Linked DNA regions of Homo sapiens: regions 2 and 3 are each linked to region 1. Evidence: promoter capture Hi-C in 16 types of primary human blood cells and fetal thymus (Javierre and others, 2016). All regions are on one chromosome and are shown on one strand. Each heading gives the region's core, a stretch centred on a gene start or on the middle of the fragment in contact. The rest is flanking DNA. Distances are from core to core; before and after follow the strand shown. Region 1 holds the start of ITIH1 (inter-alpha-trypsin inhibitor heavy chain 1). Region 2 overlaps SFMBT1 (Scm like with four mbt domains 1). Region 3 overlaps SFMBT1 (Scm like with four mbt domains 1).

Evidence for each region. Contacts are between HindIII fragments. The CHiCAGO score rates a contact against its expected background, and 5 or more counts as called.
Region 2: a fragment that was not itself captured here is called in contact with the fragment with the promoter of ITIH1 in region 1 in 1 of 17 cell types (M0 macrophages); the score reaches 5.0 in M0 macrophages.
Region 3: a fragment that was not itself captured here is called in contact with the fragment with the promoter of ITIH1 in region 1 in 1 of 17 cell types (endothelial precursors); the score reaches 5.2 in endothelial precursors.

Annotation. Positions count from the first base shown.
Region 1 is chr3:52,775,646-52,779,491 of GRCh38, reverse strand. ITIH1 (inter-alpha-trypsin inhibitor heavy chain 1) reads right to left here and starts at 1,893. Exons shown (of 22, transcript NM_002215.4): 1 at 1,760-1,893; 2 at 1,475-1,495; 3 at 986-1,152; 4 at 446-550; 5 at 1-60. The coding sequence starts at 1,876. RefSeq lists enhancers at 1-76, 61-1,260. The HindIII fragment of the contact is 3,325 bases long and covers 1-2,050 here.
Region 2 is chr3:52,913,999-52,917,708 of GRCh38, reverse strand. SFMBT1 (Scm like with four mbt domains 1) reads left to right here. Exons shown (of 21, transcript NM_016329.4): 14 at 1,495-1,559. Among named protein-coding and RNA genes, the nearest start is that of STIMATE-MUSTN1, 18 kb to the right of the region's middle. The HindIII fragment of the contact is 3,302 bases long and covers 656-3,710 here.
Region 3 is chr3:53,024,990-53,029,302 of GRCh38, reverse strand. All of the region lies in intron 1 of SFMBT1 (Scm like with four mbt domains 1), which reads left to right. Among named protein-coding and RNA genes, the nearest start is that of SFMBT1, 19 kb to the left of the region's middle. The HindIII fragment of the contact is 551 bases long and covers 1,367-1,917 here.

The DNA.
Region 1 (3,846 bases), core at 644-3,143:
TTGCTCTGGGGATTGACGGTGAGGTGGATGGTGAATTGCTCCATAGTTCTCCCCGAGGCCCTGGATGTGCCACCAGAGGCAACAGCAGACAGACAGAGGGTAAATGACATTTGGGTCCTTGTCACCTAACATGTGGCCCACAGAATTTATTTCTCTTAGATGAGTGTTGCTCCCAGGTTTCCCTGGACCTCACAAATGTGTTAGCTGGCTGGTCAGGGTCAGGGCCCAAGATGGCGGGGGCCCACTTCTCCCAGTGGCATATCTGGGAAAAGGGCAACTGCACGGCAGCCTGTTCAGTGCACCGTGCTGGCATCTGGGTTTGGGCAGTTTGCTTACCCTTCCATCATCCTGGGCTGTTCTCCACTAAAGCCACCTTGCAGCCATCAGACCTGTCCTGGCTGGGGAGGGCAGCCCTAGAGATGAGACCAGCAGGCCCAGAACTCACCTGACAAGGCCGGCATTCTCTCCTGAGATAGCTGCTTTCCGGTACTGCTTCCATGCAGTCACCTTGTCCTTTATGTCTCCGATAAATGCGTTTCCATCTGCTGTACTGCAGGGAGGGAAGGACACCCTCAGGAAAGATGAGCCTCCTGACCACACAGGTCCTGAGAGGGCCTGTCCATGTGAGCCCTTGGATAAGGACGTCTCCTGACGAGCCTTCCACTGCCCATGGTGGAACTCAGGGGTCCATGGGCAATGAGGTGAGCAGCCCAGGTCAGAGGCCAGCAAGAAGCCTCAGACTCTGGCCTTGGCTCCTTGGGTTCTAGCCTGAAACATGCTGTGATGGGTCCCAGTTTGCCTCCAAGATGGGAGCCAAGCACAGACCTAAAGGGCTTCTTCCTCCCCTCAAAGCCAGGGCTGGTCTGTGGCCCTTCTAGAATGAGGAGATGCTCTGCGTTATCTGGCCACTCCGATCCTTGTTCTTAAGCTGGGACTAGTAAGCGGCACCCCTGGGAGAAGGCATGGGAGTTGGGCAGGCACGCACACGGCAAAGTCACTGATGAATGCTGTCTTGGGGATTTCCAGGTCGAAGGCCACTTCCCTGGCTTCATTGGCAGTGTTGACCACTTGGCTGGTGACAACATAGTGGGCGAAGCGAGAGGTGACTTTGCAGTTGACTTTCAAACTCCGGATGAACACGCCATCGACAGCCTAAAGTGAGACATGAAGGAGCTGTGGCCTGAGACAGGGCCTCTGTCAGCGAGGGACTTCCTGTGGTACGGGGACTTGGCACTTAGCCCCAGTGCATGGTGCCCAGATGCAGGAAGAACAGACCGCAGGAAGACCCCTGCTCTCTGGCTGAGACCGTGCTGTGGGATATGAGGTGAGATGGGAACAAGTCCCCATTTCTAGGACCCTGGAGAGTACCCCATGCCTATGGCCCTGATAGAGGGGTCCACCCCTGACAGGTTGGGGAAAGCAAGCCTGTAAAAAGGGCTCTGTCACAGACCCCTTTGCCAGGACTCTTACTCACGGTGTCCACAGCCTGTCGCTTCTGCAAAACAAAATCAGGGTCAAGTGTGAGAGGAAAACTCAGGGGACCACCGGCCTGCCAGTTCAGGGATGGGAGTGGAACACAGCCTGTGTCCTCTGCCCCTTAGCTTCACCTCCTTGGTGGTGCTGGGAGGTCACCTCTCCACTCAGAAGTGGTGGAGGTGGTGGGGGTGACCCTGGCCCCTTGAATGGGGGTCTTGTGTCCCGCCCGGGGCCTCATCCAGGTTCAGCTGCCTATTTCTGCCCTGTGGGCTTAGCCATATACCTCGCTGCTCTTGGACCTGCCTGTAGCCGAGCCCAGGGCAGGCATGGCCTGCAGGATGAGGAGAGATACCAGGTACATGCACAACAGCAGCCCCCGAGGCCCCATGGCACCGTCCATGCTCTAAGGCTCCTGCTGCCCTGTCACCTCAGTCAGACCAGTAATCAATACAGTGCTGGATAAACATGGATTAAACATTAGACAAGGTGCAGGCAAATATTAATGACAAAAACCGCAATGACTTTTGCATCAACCTAACACATTTAGAGGAATCAAAATTTGGCAGTGGAAGCTTTTTGCCTCAGGGGGGTTCCCAGCTCTGGGTGGTTAAACTACTGATGGGGCTCCAGACCATGTCCCTCTGTGTAGAACTGCGCTTAGCCTATGTGAACTGTGAGGATCCCCGGATGGCTCATCTCATCCTCGGGCTGGCACAAGGCAGCACCAGTGACACGGTGACATGTGGCAAGAAGCAACAGTTAAAAATGGATTTCTAAACTTCATTAGGCTTTACTTTTTTTTTTTTGAGATGGAGTTTTGGTCTTGAGTGCTAGAGTGCAGTGGCAGGATCTTGGCTCAGTGCAACCTCCACCTCCTGGGTTCAAGTGATTCTCCTGCCTCAGCCTCCCGAGTAGCTGGGATTACAGGTGCACACCACCATGCCCAGCTAATTTTTGTATTTTTAGTAAAGACGGCTTCACCACATTGGCCACGCTGGTCTCGAACTCCTGACCTCAGGTGATCTGCCCGCCTCAGCCTCCCAAAGTGCTGGGATTACAGGAGTGAGCCACTGGGCCCGGCCAGGCTTTACTTTCAAATTTCTTTTTTTTTTTTTTTTTTAAGACAGGGTCTCCCTCTATCGCACAGGTGGAATACAGTGGTGCGATCTTGGCTCACTGCAGCCTCGACCTCCCAGACTCAACTGATCTTCCCACCTCAGCCTTCTGAGTACCTGGAACCACAGGAATGTGGCACCACACCCAGCTGATTATTTTTATTTTTTGTTGAAACAGGGTTTCAGTCGGGCGAGGTGGCTCATGCCTGTAATCTCAGCACTTTGGGAGGCTGAGGGAGGCAGATCACTTGAGGCCAGAAGTTCCAGCCCAGCCTGGGCAACATGGTGAAACCCCATCTCTACCAAAAATACAAAAATTAGCCAGGTATGGTGGCATGCGTCTGTGGTTCCAGCTACTCAGGAGGCTGAGGCAGGAGAATAGCTTGAGCCTGGAAAGTGGTGGTTGCAGAGAGGCAAGATTGTGCCACTGCACTCCAGCCTGGGTGACGGAGCGAGACTGTCTCCAAAAAGAAAGAAAGAAAAGAAAAGAAAGAGAGACAGAGAAAGAAAGAACAGAAAAGAAAAAAGAAAAGAAAAGAAAAGAAAAAAGAAAAGAAAGGGAGGGAAACAGGGTCTCACTTTGTTGCCCAGACTGTTTCAAAATTCTTTCAGCATCAACACACTTTTCAGTCATGCTTTGGCCAGGGAGGCAGACACGGTGGCTTAGAAAGTGTGTGACATCCAGCCATGCTGGTGATTCTCACAGTGCTAACCTGGTATTAGCTCTGTCAGAGACAGTCTGGACGGTCGGGGTGAGGCATGATGGGAGATCTGCGCTTTAGGCCAGTTGCTTCACCTCTCTGAGGTTCTTACCCAGTTCTAGAAAGAACAGAAGTGAGCTTCCTCGTTCCTGCACCTGGGCAGGGAGGCCTGGCAGATAAAGGGGAGCTGAAGATGAATGACATGTTTTCATAATCGAGGACTCATTTGTGTCATGCATTCCTCTAAACCCTTTATTGTCTAATTTTATCCTCGCAACGTTCCTGGGACACTGGCCCCATACCAAGAGACAGAACAGGGATTCAAACCAGGTCTCTCAGGCTCTAAAGCCCAAGGCCATCATGTAATGACAGAGAAGCAGACTTGAAGATCCTAGAGACAGGAGTTCCCAGAGACCCATCTTGCACCTGCAGTTTCTTATTTTTTTATTGCCAAACCCACCCTGTTCCCCAAAAACCACAGCATACTGGGCAGACAGGGCCCCTGGCCAGTCTAGTCTGTGACCTGGGTTGGGATGTGCTGGCTGCTGTGACCC
Region 2 (3,710 bases), core at 1,057-3,556, 140 kb before region 1:
TTCACACTCCTGTGAGAATCTAATGCTGCTGCTGATGTGACAGGAGGCCGAGCTCAGGCCGTAATGCTCCCTTGCCTGCTGTGCGGCCCCATTCCTAACAGGCCATAGACGGGTACTGGTCCGTGGCCCTGGGGTTGGGGACCCCTGCTTTAAACCACAGAAATTTATTTTCTTACATTCTGGAGGCTGGAAAATCCAAGATCAAGGTGCTGGTAGATTGCTTCCTAGTGAGGGCATTCTCCCTGGCTAGCAGATGGCTGTCTTCTGGCTGTGTCCTTGCATGGTGGAAAAATCTTTCTCTCCCCGGCACCCCCCGACCCCTCTCTTCCTGTAAGGCTATCAATGCTATTGGATTATAGCCTACCCTTATGACCTCATTTAATCTTAATTACTTCCCCAAGGCCCTATCTTCGAATACAGTTACACTGAGCACTAGGGCTTCAACATATGAATTTGAGTAGGAGGAAACAATTCTGTATATAGCAAATTCTATAACTACCTAAACCTTTGTAACTATGTGGGTAATAAAACTAACAACAGAAGTGGAGAGAAAGGCCATAGACATTTATACCAAGTAGAGAAGTGAGGTAACAATGAAAAAAAAGACTGACCTTGGATTTTTCCTTGACTTAGTTGCCAAAACTGATCCAAAGCTTTAGTTAGGATGCATTCTAAAAGATAAATTAGCCTTTTTTCAGTGATTGCTACATACAGAATAAGCCTCTGTTTTTTTTTAAATAACATAATTTGTCTTTAATTTGAAAACTGATGGACGAAGAAAACGAACCCTATATAAAGTTTCTGTTCTTTGACTGTTGAAAAATGAGTAGTTTATTTGTGATTTAAGCATCTCACAAGAAATTTTGTAATTTTTTTGCCCAGTGAATGAAGAGAAAGTTTGAACATGTAGTATCACAATGCTATATACAGACTGTCCATTGGCTCATTATGCCCTATATATAGTTTTAAAAACAATTGTTCTTTTTTGTTGTTGTAGTTTTTTGTTGTTGTTGTTGTTGTTGTTGTTGTTTGGTTTTTTTGACACAGAGTCCTGCTTTGTTGCCTAGGCTGGAGTGCAGTGGCACGATCTCGGCTCACTGCAAGCTCTGCCTCCTGGGTTCACGCCATTCTCCTCCCTCAGCCTCCTTAGTAGCTGGGACTACAGGTGCCTGCCACCATGCCCAGCTAATTTTTTGTATTTTTAGTAGAGACGGGGTTTCACAGTGTTAGCCAGGATGGTCTCAATCTCCTGACCTTGTGACCCGCCCACGTCAGCCTCCCAAAGTGCTGGGATTACGCGTGAGCCACCGCATCCAGCCTTGTTCTTTTAAAAAAAAAAAAAAAAAAAAAAAGTATCATCAAGGGAGTACCTTCTGTTACAGATTTTGCGAACATGCCACATTTGCTTTCTTCTTAGATTTGAAGGAAACTAAGCCTCACACTTTACTGATCTTAAGAATTATCTCACTATTTTACTGTGTTTTCTTGACCCAGAGTACCATCCTCGAGGACTGTCCACGAGGGCCTGAGGAATCAGGAGCTGAACTCCACAGAGTCAGGTATAAGCACATGTCATCTTAAGGAAAAGAAGACTTAGTTTCTTTTAATGGACTATATCTGAAAATAACTTAAAACAGTACATTTGATGTATAGTATGTGTCTTCATAGAGGGGTCTCTTAATTGTGACTTTAGAGTTATAACTGTCTAAGATGTGTTTAGTTTAATAATCATCTCTAGGCTGATAGTTCCGTCCATTTCTAATAATTGTAGCTATTCTTTACTGATCAACCGTTGTGTGCCAACGGCTCAGAAGGCCAATGTTACCATCCTTGACTTTAGCTAAAGAACCTGAAGTTTTCCAGGCAGTGTTCTTTCTTAAGCTAGATGGTTGAGAGGTAGAAGTTTATTCTTTTTAAAACCCTTTTTTATGATATGCATACTTTGTATATAAATTTCACAGTTTATGTGAAAAAAATAAAGCAATGGAAAAAGAAATTGTCCCAGAGGCAATTAATGCCTGATAAATGAGAGAAAAATCCTTGCTGGAGGTTCAAGCCTTTTGTCCAGGGTCCTCTCTTGAACTATTCTTAACTTCCACGTGCTTGTTGTGTAATGTTTAGCATCCTGGCTGTGTGTATTCTAGCACAGATTGCGCATTTGGGTGATATTTAGTAAATGCCTAGAAGAGAAATCGAAGCTCAGAGAGATCACACAGCTTATGAGTAGAAAGACCAGAAATGAAACTGAAGTCTTTCACAAATTAGAAACCCGTACTTCCGTCTCTTGTACCTACTGCCTTTTCATTACATCATTTGTACATAGAGGGTTAGGACTGTGTAACTCCTTGCTTTTGATGCTTTCCTGGCCATTCGAATGCCTACTGAAACCACAGAATTTAAGACATTAATATCTTCTGCACAACCTCAGCCAAGGCCTTTTGGTTTGGGTTTTGTCATAGGTCAGGTTCCCTGGGAAACAGAGTCTGAGACTCTGACATATGCATTCAGGAGTTTCATTGGGGAGTATTTTTGGGAACAGCTCCTTAGAAGGAGTAAAGGAAGTAGGATTGGGCAGAGAGATAAGTTGAACCATGATGCAGTTGCAACAGAAGTTTCTTCTAGTTCCACTGGGAGCCCTGAAGCTGATCTAACCACTCAGAGTTGATCCTAATTCAGGTGTGGTGGCCACACTTTACTGACCAGTTATTGGAAGTAAGCCACTGCTCCCTCCCCACCTCACAAGGGGCAAGGTGGCCCTCTCCTGCTGAGAGCAGTACCCAGTTCAGGGTGATTCCAGAATAGACATAAAACTGGGAACTGTAAGCTGCCAACATACCCAGCAGCAGGGGTATGAGTGCCTTAATTCTGAAAAGAGGCATTTGGGTTGCAGGGTTCAACTGGAAATGTGAGCACCAGCATACTGGCCACTATGATAGACCATCGTTTTTTTGTTTTGTTTTGTTTTGAGACAGGGTCTCGCTGTGTCATCCAGGCTGGAGTGCAGTGCAGTGATATCAGCTCACTGCAACCTCCACCTCCTGGGCTCAAGCTGTCCTCCTACATCAGCCTCCCGAGTAGCTGGGACTACAGGCATATGCCACCACATGTGGCTGATTTTTTTGTTTTTGTTTTTGTTTTTGTTTTTTGTAGAGATGGGGCTTCACTGTGTTACCCAGGCTGGTCTCAAACTGGACTCAAGCGATGTGCTCCCCCGTTGGCCTCCCAAATTGCTGGGATTACGGGCATGAGCCACAACACCTGGCTGTGACTATTCTTAATTAAAGAGAAAACATTATGAACTGCAGGATCCTATCAACAATGGGCAGTGTGCGCATATCTTTCCTTAACATTGGATTAACAGGCATATCTATTAGAAGAGCTTCTCTGTGCTTTATAGCAGTATTTTAGTGTCTTTGAATTTTTTACATTCAACAGCTGACATGCCTACCACTATGAGGGGATTTTTTAAAAACATTAAATTGAAGGACAGTATTGATACAGACAAATAGTTGAAGAAAAGGGTCTCCAGACCCAGTTATACCCCACAGTACAAAAAAAACTTAGAGATGTGGTCACAGCATACTTTTAGCCCTCTGAGAAATCTCAGAGATGGGATTGCTCTCACAACATCAAAGGCTGCCAACATATTAGTTTGGTGGTTTTTAGGAGACAAACTAATTCTCAATAATATTCAACAATTTCTATAAATA
Region 3 (4,313 bases), core at 393-2,892, 250 kb before region 1:
ACGCTCTGCATACTGCCATTTTCTGTAAAATATTTTCCTAAAAAGTGTGACAATTTGTGGTAGTCTATTCTTTTTCTCCCCCATGGTAGTACATTTCTAGCCCATGACTTTTTTTTTTTTTTTTTTTTTTTGAGACGGAGTCTCGCTCTGTCGCCCAGGCTGGAGTGCAGTGGTGCATCTCGGCTCACTGCAAGCTCCGCCTCCCGGGTTCATGCCATTCTCCTGCCTCAGCCTCCCGAGTAGCTGGGACTACAGGCGCCCGCCACCATGCCTGGCTAATTTTTTTGTATTTTTAGAAGAGACGGGGTTTCACCGTGTTAGTCAGGATCTTCTCAAGCTCCTGACCTTGTGATCTGCCTGTCTTGGCCTCCCAAAGTGCTGGGATTATAGGCATGAGCTACCGCGCCCGGCCTAGCCCATAACTCTTGTGACTTGCTCAGAGAGTGTTCACACCAAGCCAGTGACAGGCAGGCAGGTCCCCTCTGAGAGTACTTGTGCACTTCCCTGCAAGGGTTCCCAGCCACGAGTGCTAGACTGGGCGTTTCTGAGTTGTGTTTGCTCTGCTATGGCCTTCTTTCTGCCATTTATTCTGTGTTCTAGCAGGTAATTTTTTTTTAAGATGGGGTCTTGCTATGTCACCCAGACTGGAATGCAGTGACCATACACAGGTATGATCATGATAGCACATTACAGCCTCCAACTCCTGGACTCAAGCTGTTTTCCCATCTCAGCCTCCCGAGTAGCTGGGACTAGTGGTACAAGCATGTGCCACCATGCCCAGCTAGTAAGTAGTTTTGACCCATGAAGGCAGACAAAGAGATGTGACTTGTAGAGTTGAATTTGTGGCAAAGAAACAGTATCACACTGTATGTCAACACACAAGTTTTATGGAACTAAGGTGACTTCAAGAAGTGGTCTGAAAGCGAGGCATGGTGGCTCATGCCTGTAATCCCAGCATTTTGGGAGGCCAAGGCAGGTGGATTGCTTGAGCCCAGGAGTTCGAGACCAGCATGGGCAACATGACAAAACCCTGTCTCTACAAAAAATACAAAAATTAGTTGAGTGTGGTGGTGTGCACCTGTAGTCTCAGCTACTCAGGTGGTTGAGGCAGGAAGATCACTTGAATCTGCCTCCAAGTGAGCTGTGTTCGAGCCACTGCACTCCACCCTGGATGACAGAGCAAGACCCTGTCTCAAAAAGAGTGGTCTGAGAAAAAGAAACAACCGTAGACGTCAGCAGGCAATTAGGGTTAATCAAGTTTTTTGTACTGTGAAAGGCTTTGTAAACAATGGGGTAACCTGGCAAGTTGGACTATCCAAAGTTTAACCCATTTATGCCTACTGTTCCATTACTGGAACGCTAAGCTTGTGGGAGTTATTTATATCATAGTGCTCAAGGTCATCACCAAGGTCTGAGTTTTCACACAAAAAAATTTGCAACCTCCAGCATAAATGGGTTAAAGAACAGGGGGAAGAAACAATGGCTTAAAGGCATGTTTTAATTTCACAGGATTTTAAGAGGAAGCAAATTTCCTGTGGATGATGCCTAACGAATTTACATACGGACTCTGCTTTAGTGACCTTTCTCATTCTTCCATCCATGCCTGTGAAAAAAGGCAGCTGCAGCCTGATTGGCCCATGTGCACACTAGGACTTGTCAGAAATAGCTGACCTCTGGGGCAGATGGTAGGCACTGAATCACTGAATTTCCTTCTCCTGTGAAAATGACAGTATTCCTGGAGGCAGAAATGTTATTGCTGTGTTAAAAAGTTGAATTTTCTCATTAGTGAACTGGAGGTGCCATGATCTGATACCATAGTAATTCATTTAGCAGACACTAAGTAGCTGTGACATGAAGCAGTGGTGCCAGGGGTTTAGGGAATGCAAAATTGAGTAAGTTCCCTGGCCTAGAGAAGCTTATAATCAGGATAGGAAATGATACAGAACTTGTGTTTAAGTGTTGTCAAAAAAGTGTAAAGCGTCTACTATGGAAGGTGTTTTAACGGGGGTGGGGGAATGGGCTAACATTTGTAGAGTTTTGTTTTGAGAAAGGATTTTTTGTAGGAGTAAATGGCAGTGAGTTAGTGATTTGTGAATACTTCTATATTGTATTATTAGTGTAAGAATTTTTAATAAGCTAAAAATTTCAGGTCTTAATAGAGGAAACATCTAGTGTAAAATAAGAAAGTAACCCTGAAATTTTCTTTTGAATTCCCTTCCCTGTTGGGCATGGTGGGTCATGCCTATAATCCTAGCACTTTGGGAGGCCAAGGAGGGAGGATTAGTTGAGACGAGGAGTTTGAGACCAGCCTGGGCAACCTAGCGAGACCCCATCTCTACAAAAAATTGAAAAATTAGCCAGGTGCGGTGGCACGATTGTGTAGTCTTAGCTACTTGGGAGGCTGAACCCAGGAGGTCGAGGCTGCAGTAAGCCGTGATTGCACCATCTTACTCCAGCCTCTCCAGGGACAGGGCAAAACCCTGTCTCTAAAGGAAGAAAAAAAATCCCTTCTCAAACCTTTATCTTTAGCGCTGCCTCCTTCTTAAGCTATTATTTAATTTTGTTGAGGTTCTTGCCAGCTCTTCCTTTTTGAGAGTGCGGCTAAGAACCAACCACACAGATCTCTGGGCTGTTATATCTAGGACTGTAGGCAGCCCCACAGGGACCTACCTGTAACTGCAGTGAGCAGCTGTGGGGGCACAGGGAGGGAGGGTAAACTCTGTTAACTTGTGGCCATGAACATGCAGCTTGGTAGGAATTCCAGCTATCCTTAAAGGGCCTCAGCCTTTTTACTTTGTATTCTCTGTTGAGTTCCTCTATTTGCTCTTTAATTGCTAAGGAAGACTTACTGTCCTCACTGAGTGGCTACGTGTGAGTCGTTTGCTGTCTTGACTTATGGTTTTGTGTGTTTTTAGAATCTTTCCTTTCTAGTACAATAAAATATTTTTATTATTTTAAAAATTAAACTGATTTTGGTAGAATGCTAGGAAAGGGACCAAAAATTTAGTTCATGTTAACTTACTGGAGAATTTTGGTGGGATAGCAGGTTTTGAAGAGATGAAGTGCCTTTTTATTACAGCTTATTACTTTACTGTTGATACTTGTAAGCTGTTACTTGAGACATAAGCATTACTGTGGCAGTTTGTGTTTTCATGTAGTGATGTTTATGGTGTTAATATTTTTTCAGATAATTAATTTTGCTTTTAATAATTTAAAACTACACTTTCTGTAAAGTGATCAGTTGCATTTGGGGGTAGAACTTTTTCTGAAGCAATGTGCTTACATCACTTAACCCATCCATTTGCACGCAATATTAGCTCTTCAAAACACAGCCCAACACTGAGAGAAAGCAAAATCAGTTTTCAAGTGCTGACAATAATTGTTATAAAGCTCCCGCACCAAAGCTGATGTATGGTTCTTAACTGTTTTCCAGCCTTCCGTGTAGATCAGACACCATCAGCTGGGAGCAAGATGAGTAGAGATTGTTAGGGCTGCATAGTGGAGGCAGCAGTCAGCAAAGTCCAGCATCACACCTGGGCTGGGTATAGTTGCTCTTTAGAGAGGCTAGAGTTACCAAGGCAAAGATGAAGTATGTTTAGGAGTCTCTGTTTTAAGAAGATAGGGAAGTAAAAATATATTCTAGAAATATTTCCATCACAGTGTTGAATTTCTTTTTTTTTCTTTTTTTAAGACGGGGTTCACTCTGTCACCCAGGCTGGAGTGCAGTGGCACAATCATGGCTCACTGAATCATCTACCTCCTGGGCGCAAGTGACCTCTCACCTCAGCTTCCCAAGTAGCTGGGACCATAAGCGTGTGCCACCATGCCTGGCTAATTTTTAAATTTTTAAAATTTTTTGTAGAGACAAAGTCTCCCAACATTGCCCAGGCTGGTCTCAAATTCCTGAATTAAAGTGATCCCTCCACCTCAGCCTCCCAAAGTGTTAGGATACAGGCGTGAGCCACTGCACCCAGCCTGAAATATGTTTTGATGCTTGAAGAATGACCAGGCTTCATTTATATATCTGGGCTTTGTTACCTTAGTCCAAAAATGAAGGGAATGGGACTCCCAGATTTTTTCTAGTTCTAAATTTCTTTCTTCATTGGCTGTCTAGAAAATTTACATTTTGATAATTATCCTCTTGAAAATACAGTTAAGAAGGTCATGTTTTTTCTGTAACTTGACCAGTTTAATAAAAACTGGATTAATAGGTACTTACATATTTCTGTACTGTTTCTATAATACTTATATAAAAATATTAAAAGTTTTATAACCTGGCATGTTATAAATTAGTTTTCCCCTATAATAACTAT